Regions from separate parts of the Homo sapiens genome. Here region 2 is linked to region 1. Evidence: promoter capture Hi-C in human tissues and cell types (Jung and others, 2019). All regions are on one chromosome and are shown on one strand. The core of a region is centred on a gene start or on the middle of the fragment in contact, and the rest is flanking DNA. Distances in the headings are between cores, read along the strand shown.

Evidence for each region. Contacts are between HindIII fragments. The study calls those that stand out against the background at their distance.
Region 2: the fragment with the promoter of VPS4A here is called in contact with a fragment that was not itself captured in region 1 in 1 of the 25 tissues and cell types used here (dorsolateral prefrontal cortex).

Annotation. Positions count from the first base shown.
Region 1 is chr16:68,423,410-68,428,628 of GRCh38, forward strand. All of the region lies in intron 1 of SMPD3 (sphingomyelin phosphodiesterase 3), which reads right to left. Among named protein-coding and RNA genes, the nearest start is that of SMPD3, 22 kb to the right of the region's middle. The HindIII fragment of the contact is 8,175 bases long and covers 1-5,219 here.
Region 2 is chr16:69,308,078-69,312,979 of GRCh38, forward strand. VPS4A (vacuolar protein sorting 4 homolog A) reads left to right here and starts at 3,273. Exons shown (of 11, transcript NM_013245.3): 1 at 3,273-3,455. The coding sequence starts at 3,435. SNTB2 (syntrophin beta 2) reads left to right here. Exons shown (of 7, transcript NM_006750.4): 7 at 1-975. RefSeq lists enhancers at 2,145-3,095, 3,096-4,045 and silencers at 2,988-3,127, 3,188-3,737. The HindIII fragment of the contact is 10,929 bases long and covers 1-4,902 here.

The sequences.
Region 1 (5,219 bases), core at 2,342-4,841:
GGTGGGGATCCATGATGGGGCTGGCGGCTTTATAAGAGGAAGAGAGATCTGAGCTGGCATACTCTCTATCTCTCTCCATCTTCTACCATATTATGACACAGAAAGAAGACCCTCATCAGATGCGACCCCCTTGATCTTGGACTTCCCAGCCTCCAGAACTGTAAGAAATACATTTCTTGTCTTTCTAAATTACCCAGTCTCAGGTGTCCTGTTACAGCAATAGAAAATGAACTAAGACACCAGCAAACTGGGTTGAGTCTTTTTCTTCCTACTGGTCTTGTTCCTGAACCCCAGATCTCTGCTTCAGGCTTAGCCAAGGAGCTTAGGACCACCTCATTTTTTACCCACCAGCAGGTACTTCCTAAGCTTGGCACTATTCCAGACCCCGTGGGGCACTCTGAGCATGAAAGAACAGACTGGCACAAGTGAAACAAGTTATGGAGGCTGATGTGGGTGGTTCTGGACCCCAGCAGTGGCTGAGGAGGCGGTGATGTCACCCAGCAGAGCAGTGCTGGGGAGATGGAAGGTCTGGAGGCCTCAGTGGCGGTGAACAGTCCACAGTGAGGGTGGACATGGCCCAAGGTGACCAAGGGCTCGGCCTGGGGACGTCACCTGCCCAGTCAGGCCCTCCCTGCACAAAGCCCAAGGAGTTAGCCAATGGCCAGGGCAGTCTTAGCCAGGGGGCCTAGGTGGTCCTAGGGTGCCAGAGGGTCCTAGGCCCCCTGGCTAAGCCTGCCCTGGTCACTGGCTGTGGGAACAACAGTTTCTCCTGAATCCTCTCTTTGGCCAGGAGTACTGCCATGTCCTTACTCCTGTGTATACATGGCAGGATGTAATTATCCTAAAGATACCATCTTGAAGCTTTGAATCCTGAACTCCCAGCCCCAGCATTAAGTCTGCCTTCTGCCTTCTTCACTTGCCCCTCCACAATGGGGCTGCAGGGGCCGTAGGGGGAATAAGCATCAGCAGAGACCCTTGTGACTCCTGGGCACTGCCTGCAGAGCTTTGGTCCTGTGTGCAAGGGCCTGTGGATCATGGTCGAACAGTCAGACCCTCAAGTCATGTTGGGCCTGACTCCACAGTGACCTGGGAAAAGTAATTTTACTTATGAACCCCAATTCTCACATCTGTAAAATGGAGGTAATCATAGTAGCTGCATCATACAACAGCTGAGGGGATGAAATGGGAGAATCCACACAGAATGGTTCAGCGCCACGCCAGGCATCAGCAAAGTTACTGTCTTGATGACTCTATTCTCTTGCAAAGTTACTGTCTTCATGACTCTATTATAAACCAGAAGAATGTTTTCTCTTTTTTTTGAGATGGGGTCTCACTCTGTGACCCAGGCTGGAGTGCAGTGGCATGATCTCAGTTCACTGCAACCTCCGCCTCCTGGGCTCAAGTGATCCTCCCACCTTAGCTTCCTGAGTAGCTGGGATTACAGGTGCACATCACCATGCCTGGCTAATTTTTTGTATTTTTGGTAGAGACAGGGTTTCACCAAGTTGCTCAGGCTGGTCTTGAACTCCTGGTCTCAAGTGATCTGCCCACCTTGGCCTCCCAAAATGCTGCGATTGCTGGTATAAGCCACTGCGCCTGGCTATATTATAAACCAGAAGAATGTTCTTAAGAAAACAGTCCCTAATAAAAGATGCAGAAACCTCCTCCCAGGAAGATGTGGAAGAGAGGCCTGGGCCTCAGCTGATGGGATGGTGCCTGTGGGTTGGTAGTCATGGCACTCACTCCCACTTATCAGATAGTAGGGCTTACAAGGGCCAGAATTAGAACCTCTGGCTTTAGACCTTTGGTTGTCAATTCTCTGTATATGGGAAATCAAAACAGAACTTCATGGATGTCTCTGGAGGTGCACCGAAGTCAAGGCTGGAACTGGTGAGGGAGAATCTTTCCTATTCAAAAGAAATAGACTGCTTGGGATGGGTGAAGGCAGGGGCAAGAGCCCTGCATGCCAAGAGGGTCTCCTCCAGCTGGATGGTTCCAAGGTTTCACATGAATAATCAGTAGGAGGGAGCGAAGGGGCCCAGCTTCCTCATCTCTTGGAGAGGGTCTTTGGCTTTTGCAGAGTGACAGCCACAGGAGGCAAACTCCACTGGATGCCATGAGGACAATGGGTGGGGGGGCGGGCCCTAAGGAGCCAGAGTCAGAAGAAGGATGGGCAGAAACCAAGGAGGCTGTGATGACAGGGGCAGGGAGGTGGCAGCGCCATGGGACACATCAATGCTGACCCTAAGCTCTTCAGATTGCTGTTAGCACTGTGAGGCAATAAGGATGGGTGAATCTGCAGGCTGGGAGGGTGGTGGGATACTCAGCAAGATATCCGGCCTCGGGCCAGCCCAGGCTGGGGCTGGGTGGTGGGGATCTGGAGAACAAGCACTCCCTGCTGAAAGAGAGGGAGAGGTGTGCCACCCAGAAGGAACAACACCTGGGTTTGTCAGCCCTCCTCCCTTGCACTATGCCGCGAGGAAGTCAATCACATGTGTGTCTCTGAGGTGACAATGTACCCCCAGCACAGAGGATTCCATGTGGAGGATGCTAAGGGAGCACTGAGAGTGGATTTGCTTAAAAAGAAGCAGGGATCCCTAGTGCTGATGATGGGCTAGATTTTCCTCAAGGAAAATAAACTTCAGACTTAAGACACAACAAAGGTGAAAATAAAATAGAGGCTCTATTTTAGCCATCTTATCTACTACAGTATCAATAATCCTGTTCCACTTTTGCAAGATGCATAGCATAGTTCTAAATAGGACGTTTACATGATCAGGTATCTAGTCAACATTTGAACGGAGAATCTACTAAGGCTTAATGTAGAACCAAGCCCCACGGATGTCAGACACAGGTGTACCCACAAGGAAATGAATGTTGATTCAATAACCTTATTTGATCTTTGACAACCCCATTTATTATGTCATTATGGGGACTGGAGACTGGAGGAAGAGAAAACAAAGAGTGGTGAGCTGGCTCACCCTGGTCACACTGACAACCAGTTCATGACCATGTCAAGAAGCTTCTGTGGGTCTCCCCACAGTGGCCTGGAGCTGACTCCTGGCTGACCTAGTAGCTTGTCCCTACTGCTTGGCCTCCATAAAAGTGACTCATTGATGAAAGTTGCCAGGGGGAGCTACTGAATATCTGAAGGAGAGACATGCTTCTGAAAACTGTGAAACAATGAAAAGCTCTTAACAATTGATTTAAAATCAATATGGTGTGGAAATAGCACCCAAAATAGAAATATCCTCAAGAGGCCAAGGGATAGATGTACATTCGTCATTGCTGTTTCTGTCACTGCACTCATTTTCCAACCCTGACTGTGTGTACACATGTAAATATTTCATACGGATTCAGCCTCACACTGGGCTGTTCAACTTTTTATTAATAACAAGAATAATAATAACCTCATTTGTGGAGTGCTTCTTTCTGCCAGCTACTTTAAATTTACTCATTTAATCCTGCCATCAATCCACGTAGGTCAATATGGTTATTCCCATTTTACAGATGAGGAGACTGAGGCTTCCTAGGTCCACTCAGCAGCCTATTTTAAATCAGAGATTTAAACTCAGGTCTATCTTTTTTTTTTTTTTTTTTTTTTTGAGACAGAGTCTTGCTCTGTCACCCAGGCTGGAGTGCAGTGGTGAGATCTCGGCTCACTGCAACCTCCACCTCCGGGGTTCGAGCGGTTCTCCTGCCTTAGCCTCCCAAGTAGCTGGGATTACAGGAGTGTGCCACCATGCCTGGCTAACTTTTGTATTTTCAGATACAAAAGAGACAGGGTTTCACCACGTTGGCCAGGCTCGTCTCAAACTCCTGACCTCATGTGACCCACCTGCCTCAGCCTCCCAAAGTGCTGGGATTAAGGCGTGAGCCACCATGCCCAGCCTTAAACTAAGGTCTATCTGATTTCAGAGATGATCTTACCACTTTTCTGTATCGTCAAACTTGCCAGACGGCAAGGAAGAACTGGGAGGAATAATGAATGCATCTAGTGAAAGAATTGGGACCCTAAGACATCTGGAGGCTCTGGCAGCAACTGTCCAACAGAACTTTCTGCAGTGATGGAAATGTTTTGTTTCGACACTGTCCAATATGGTAGCCTGTAGCCACACATGGTTATCAGGCACTTGAAATGTGGCTTGGGTGACTGAGAAACTGAATTTTTAATTTAATCTTATTTATTTATATTTAAATAGTTACACATTGCTAGAGGCTCCCATACCGGACAGCACAACCCTAGTGCTATGGGCAGAAGTCAACAAGATGATTCTGGGTTGAGAACTGTGTAACATCTAACATTTGGGTCACAGGAGTGGGATGGGGAGTTAAAAATGACTGGGGGGGGGTGCTGATGCATTGTGAGCAGTCACCTCCAAATGTGGGAGCTGAAACATCGAATCAGAGAAAGGAAGGAGGAAGGGAGTGGGCAGGACAGAGGGGACGGGAGGAGCTTGGCAAGCGGGGGCAGGTACAAGACAGGTTCACCTGAGGATCCAGTCCCTTGTTCCCTGTGCTCGAGACCCAGAAATGCAAAGGAAAGATGAAGACTTCAGAGAGGGGAGGGTCTCATGCCACTTAGTGGATCTACCCACAGGGAAGCATCTTCCTGTGCCTCTGTCAGCTTCTTAGACTTCCCATGAGCTATGTCCACCTTCATCCACACCCCATTTCTATGTTTGCTTTGGAGTGTCTGAGCAGCCAAGGCCTCATCCTTGGAGCAGGGAAGTAAACATCATGGAGACAAACTCACTTGACTTCACTTAGAGAGGCTAATGACCCAAGATTTTCCAGCTCAAAGGCCCTGTGAGCATCTCCCAAGAAGATATGGCCATGGTAAAAAGACATTAGGAAGCAGAGGGCAATAAACCGTGTATGATCAGAAAGAGTAGGACAAATCCTTGACTAGTGTGCCAGAGGCAACGCTTTGAACAGAAGAGCCACACAGGCTGCCTCAAACAGCCACTCCACCCTGGTTTACAAATTGAATGCATCCTTCACCCCGCTCCTGCCCCATTCTGCAGATTTGCAGGGAGCAGGAGCAGCAGCAGAAGGGCCTGGGCAGCTTGCTCCAGAAGGGACTTCTCATCCTGGATTTTCAAAGGGGAGGGTGGGTTTATCCCTTTGTCCTCATACTGTCTTGAGTCTGGACTTCAAAACGTAAGAGGTAAATAGGAGAACCGGTCACAGAGAGAAAAGGGCTTCCCAGGAAGTCA
Region 2 (4,902 bases), core at 2,023-4,522, 880 kb after region 1:
TCCCCTTGGTTTTCAAGTATCTTGGAGTTGTGCACAAAAATTAGGTCATGCCTTCAGTGTCTTGTTCTTTAAACCTACCCTTTGACAATCAGGTGCTAATGATTGTATACTATTAAAACCAGCACATAAGTATTGTAAATGTGTGTTCCTCCTAGGTTGGAAGAAATGTCTTTCCTTCTATCTGGGTCCTGTTAAAGCGGGTGTCAGTTGTGTCTTTTCACCTCGATTTGTGAATTAATAGAATTGGGGGGAGAGGAAATGATGATGTCAATTAAGTTTCAGGTTTGGCATGATCATCATTCTCGATGATATTCTCACTTTGTCGCAAATCTGCCCTTATCGTAAGAACAAGTTTCAGAATTTTCCCTCCACTATACGACTCCAGTATTATGTTTACAATCCATTGGATGAGTGCAGCATTATAAGACCTTGGTGCCCAGAAAAATCTGTCCTTTTTGGTACCAAACCTGAGGTCTTTTGGAAGATAATGTAGAAAACCACTACCTATTGAAGGCCTGTTTTGGCTAATCTGTGCAAACTCTGATGATACCTGCTTATGTGGATTCTTTTCCACACTGCTTTCATTTTTAAGTATAAAGACTTAGAAAACTAGAATAATGCTTTTACAAATAATTAAAAGTATGTGATGTTCTGGGTTTTTTCCTTCTTTTTAGAACCCTGTATTTAAACAAGCCTTCTTTTTAAGTCTTGTTTGAAATTTAAGTCTCAGATCTTCTGGATACCAAATCAAAAACCCAACGCGTAAAACAGGGCAGTATTTGTGTTCCTAATTTTAAAAAGCTTTATGTATACTCTATAAATATAGATGCATAAACAACACTTCCCCTTGAGTAGCACATCAACATACAGCATTGTACATTACAATGAAAATGTGTAACTTAAGGGTATTATATATATAAATACATATATACCTTTGTAACCTTTATACTGTAAATAAAAAAGTTGCTTTAGTCACGTGGGTTGTTTTTTTTTTCCAATTTTTAAAATGCTGAAATAGTTTTGAACCTACAGGAAAGTTACAAAAACAATACAAATCTTCTTCACCCAAACCTTCCAGTTGTTAACATTTTGCCATATTTATTCCATTACCTTGTCTTTCTCTAATATGATTCTCTAGCACCCTTAAATTCTCTAGTGAGGACCTCCAAAACATAAGGACAGTCCTTGCATTGCCACCATAAAGTCCTCCTAATCAAGAAATCAACATTGGCACACCACCACTCATTCCATAGACCCCATTCAAATGATGCCAGCCATCCCGGCCATGTCCTGTTTTCCTCTCTGGCCTTGGATCCTGGCCAATACCACTTTCTTGCCTTTTGTCGTCGTGTCTCAGTTCTTCAGTCTGGAATGTTCCTCGGCCTTACTCTAATTCGCATGTGCCTGAGTCTCAGCACAAGGCTTTGATTGTTCAGCACAGCTCTCCAGCTGGCTCTATTCGGTGTTGCCTCACAACCAGGCTGTGTCACACACTCTTGGCAGAGATGCCACGATGCCATGCTCTCTTCAGGGTATCATGTGGAGAGACACACGAGGGCCACGCATCCCACCACCAGGGGTGTTCCCTTCGGTCGCGTAGTCAAGCTAATGTCCTCATTGTTTTCTCCTTTGTATTTATTTATTTATTTAGAGATGGAGTTCCGCTCTTGTCGCCCAGGCTGGAGTGCAATGGCGTGGTCTTGGCTCACTGCAACCTCCGCCTCCCAGGTTCAAGCGATTCTCCTGTCTCAGCCTCCCAAGTAGCTGGGATTACAGGTGCCCACCACCATGGCCGGCGAATATTTTGTATTTTTAGTAGAGACAGGGTTTCACCATGTTGGCCAGGCTGGTCTTGAACTCCTGACCTCAAGTGATCCACCTGCCTCGGCCTCCCAAAGTACTGGGATTATAGGCGTGAGCCACCGCGCCCGGCCTCTCCTTTGTATTTAATTAGCATTTTGTGAAGAGAGATTAAGGTGTGCCAATTTTTTGGTTTTTTTTTTTTTTTTTTTTTTTTTTTTTTTTTTTTTTTTTTGGAGGCAGGGTCTTGCTTCATTTCCCAGGGTGGAGTACAATGGCCTGGTCACGGCTCACTACAGCCTCGACCTCCCAGGCTCCAGCAATTCTCCCAACTCAGCTTACGGAGTAGCTGGGACTACAGGTGTGCGCCACCATGCCCAGATACGTTTTTTATTTTTTGTAGCGATGGGGGTTCACCTGTTGCCGAGGCTGTTCTCGAATTCCTCGGCCCAAGCAATCGGCCTGCCTCGGCTTCCCAAAGTGTTGGGATTACAGGCATGAGCCCCCATACCCAGCCTCAACTTGGATGTTTTTTGCCCTCCATTTTTTTTCTCTCACAGGATAGACTTGTGGACAAATGGATCACTTGCCTCTGGTGCGTTTTTTTGTTTGTTTGTTTTGTTTTGTTTCTTAATTTAGCGACGAGGTCTTACTATGTTGCCCAAGCTGGTCTTGATCCTCGGCTCAAGCAATCCTCCTGCCTTGGCCTCCCAAAGTGCTGGAATTACAGGCGTGGGCCAGTACACCCAGCCCTAGAACTGCTTTGATCATTGTATCCCCAGAAACTAGCACACAACGCTGCACACAGTAGGTGTGCATGCCTGTAATCCCAGCTACTCGGGAGGCTGAAGCAGGAGAATCGCTTGAACCCGGGAGGCGGAGGTCGCAATGAGCCGAGATCATGCCACTGCACTCCAGCCTAGGCGACAGAGCAAGACTCCGTATCAATCAATCAGTCAATCAATCCAAGCAAAACAAAACTGGCTTTGAACAGTCAGCGGCATCCCACCAGGGATTGAGCCCCAGTGTGGGGCACACTCTGTTTACATTAGCTAGCTCATTTATTCCCCACAAAAGCCAGACAAGGCAGGTACTAATTATGATCGTGCGATATTAAACATGGAGAAACCAACGCTCTGATAAGTTCGTTTTATTGTGAGAATAAAACTGCTCAATGGGCGCTGTTATTCCAAGCGAGGTCAGGATTTCCGGATTCTACCCCGCTCCGCCCCTGGCCCCGCCCCGAGAATGTACGTCCCGCCAGGCCCCGCCCCGGCCTTGTCCCACCCACCCCGTCCCCGCCCCCTGTCCGTCTCGCCCTAGTCCCACCTCCTCGTCCCCAGTCAGTCCTGCCTCTCGAACCGCCCCCTGCCTTCGCCGAGGCAGGGAGAGGTGCCTGCAGTGCGAGCCGTGGACGCTAGGGGGCAGCCGCTCGGCTCGGGCCCGACCGCTCTGGGCTGCGCTCCTCGCTTGCCCTCGGACTCGGCTCCCGCTGCGAGCGGCCGCCCTGCCCGCGCACCGCGCTCAGCGCCCACCGCCGGGCTTCCCGCGCCGGACCCAGTACCTCGGCTCCCCGGGGCCGGACCGAGGCCGCAAGCAGCGCCGCGGGGTGTGGGGCGGACCCAGGAGATGAAATGACAACGTCAACCCTCCAGGTACTTCGTGCGGCCCGGCCCGACTTCGGAGGCCGAAGGCAGCGGGGCCTGCGGGCCGCAGAGCCGGGCGGCGGGCGGGTGGTCAGGTGGGCGCCTCCCAGCCCCGGCCTCGCGACCCCGCTCCGGCCGCCCCCTCGCCGCTTCCGCCCGTGTCTGTTTCCACGCGCTCGGAGCCGGGTGGCATCTCCACCCTCAGGCCTTCCGGCCCTGCCCGGCTGGCCCAGCCCCAGGGCCGCTTCGTGTAGCCGGCGCCCCGGTACCGCCGTGGGGATCAGCCTCACCCGAGCCGCACAGGCACCCTCAGGAAGCTCGGCCCGGGGTCCGGCTGGGCGTTCAGACAGCGATGCTCGCTCCCTCCTCTCCTGTCTCGCTCCCTCCTCTCCTGTCCCGGGTCCTGGAAGTCCCTCGACCTCACTTCGAACAAGCCCCGGCCCCTTCCCCAATCTTCGACTTCCTCTTCTCGGCCAGCGACCCTTCATTCATTCCCTAGATCCTGCAGGGTGGTGCTGGGATGGCGCCACCTGGGTGAACAACTGACCCACCCTCTAGGTGCTGTCAGTCCTGCGGGGCCAGAAGAGATCAACATGCTCAGGCCTCATTCCGGGGTTTGAATCTCAGCTCTGCCACTCACCAGCAAGTGACCTTGGGCTAGTTTTTTTTTTTCATCTTCGGGTCTCGAGTTTCCTGGTCTGTAAAATGGGGTAATGCCCTCTAGGTTGTTGTGATGATAGCTTTAAATTGAATAATTACGGTAAAGCATTCTTGTATGTCTGGCACATAGTAGGTGTCCATTAAGTGACAGCCAACAAAGTGCCTGGGAGAGTTAGGCAAGACTTCATGGAAGAAGGGACATCAGAGTTCCAGTAGCATTCAGAGACCTGGAGGTGGAGGAGGGCAGAAGTAGGAGCAGACATGGAATGAGTTGGGGTACCAGGTTAGGAATTAAGAGTCCATAGCCAGATCCCACCGTACCACCAGCAGAAGCCGCAGATCCCGTCTGCCCAGGCAGGTTTTTTATGGCCCGTGAACCGAGAATGTTTTTCAGTTTCAAACACAGGTGTATTTATTTATTTTTAAATTTTATTTATTTATTTTTTTGAGATGGAGTCTCACTCTGTCACCCAGACTGGAGTGCAGTGGTGTGATCTTGGCTCACTGCAGCCTCTGCCTCTCAGGTTCAAGCGATTCTCCTGCCTCAGCCTCCTGAGTAGCTGGGATTACGGGCACCCGCAACCACGCCCGGCTAATTTTTGTATTTTTAGTAGAGACCGGGTTTCACCGTGTTGGCCAGGCTGGTCTCGAACTCCCGACCTCAGATGATCTGCCCACTTCGGCCTCCCAGAGTGCTGGGATTACAGGTGTGAGCCACGGGTCTGGCCTAAACACAGCTTTATTAAGGTATAACTTGCGTGCTTACCATATAACTCACCCGTTATATATTTTTGTT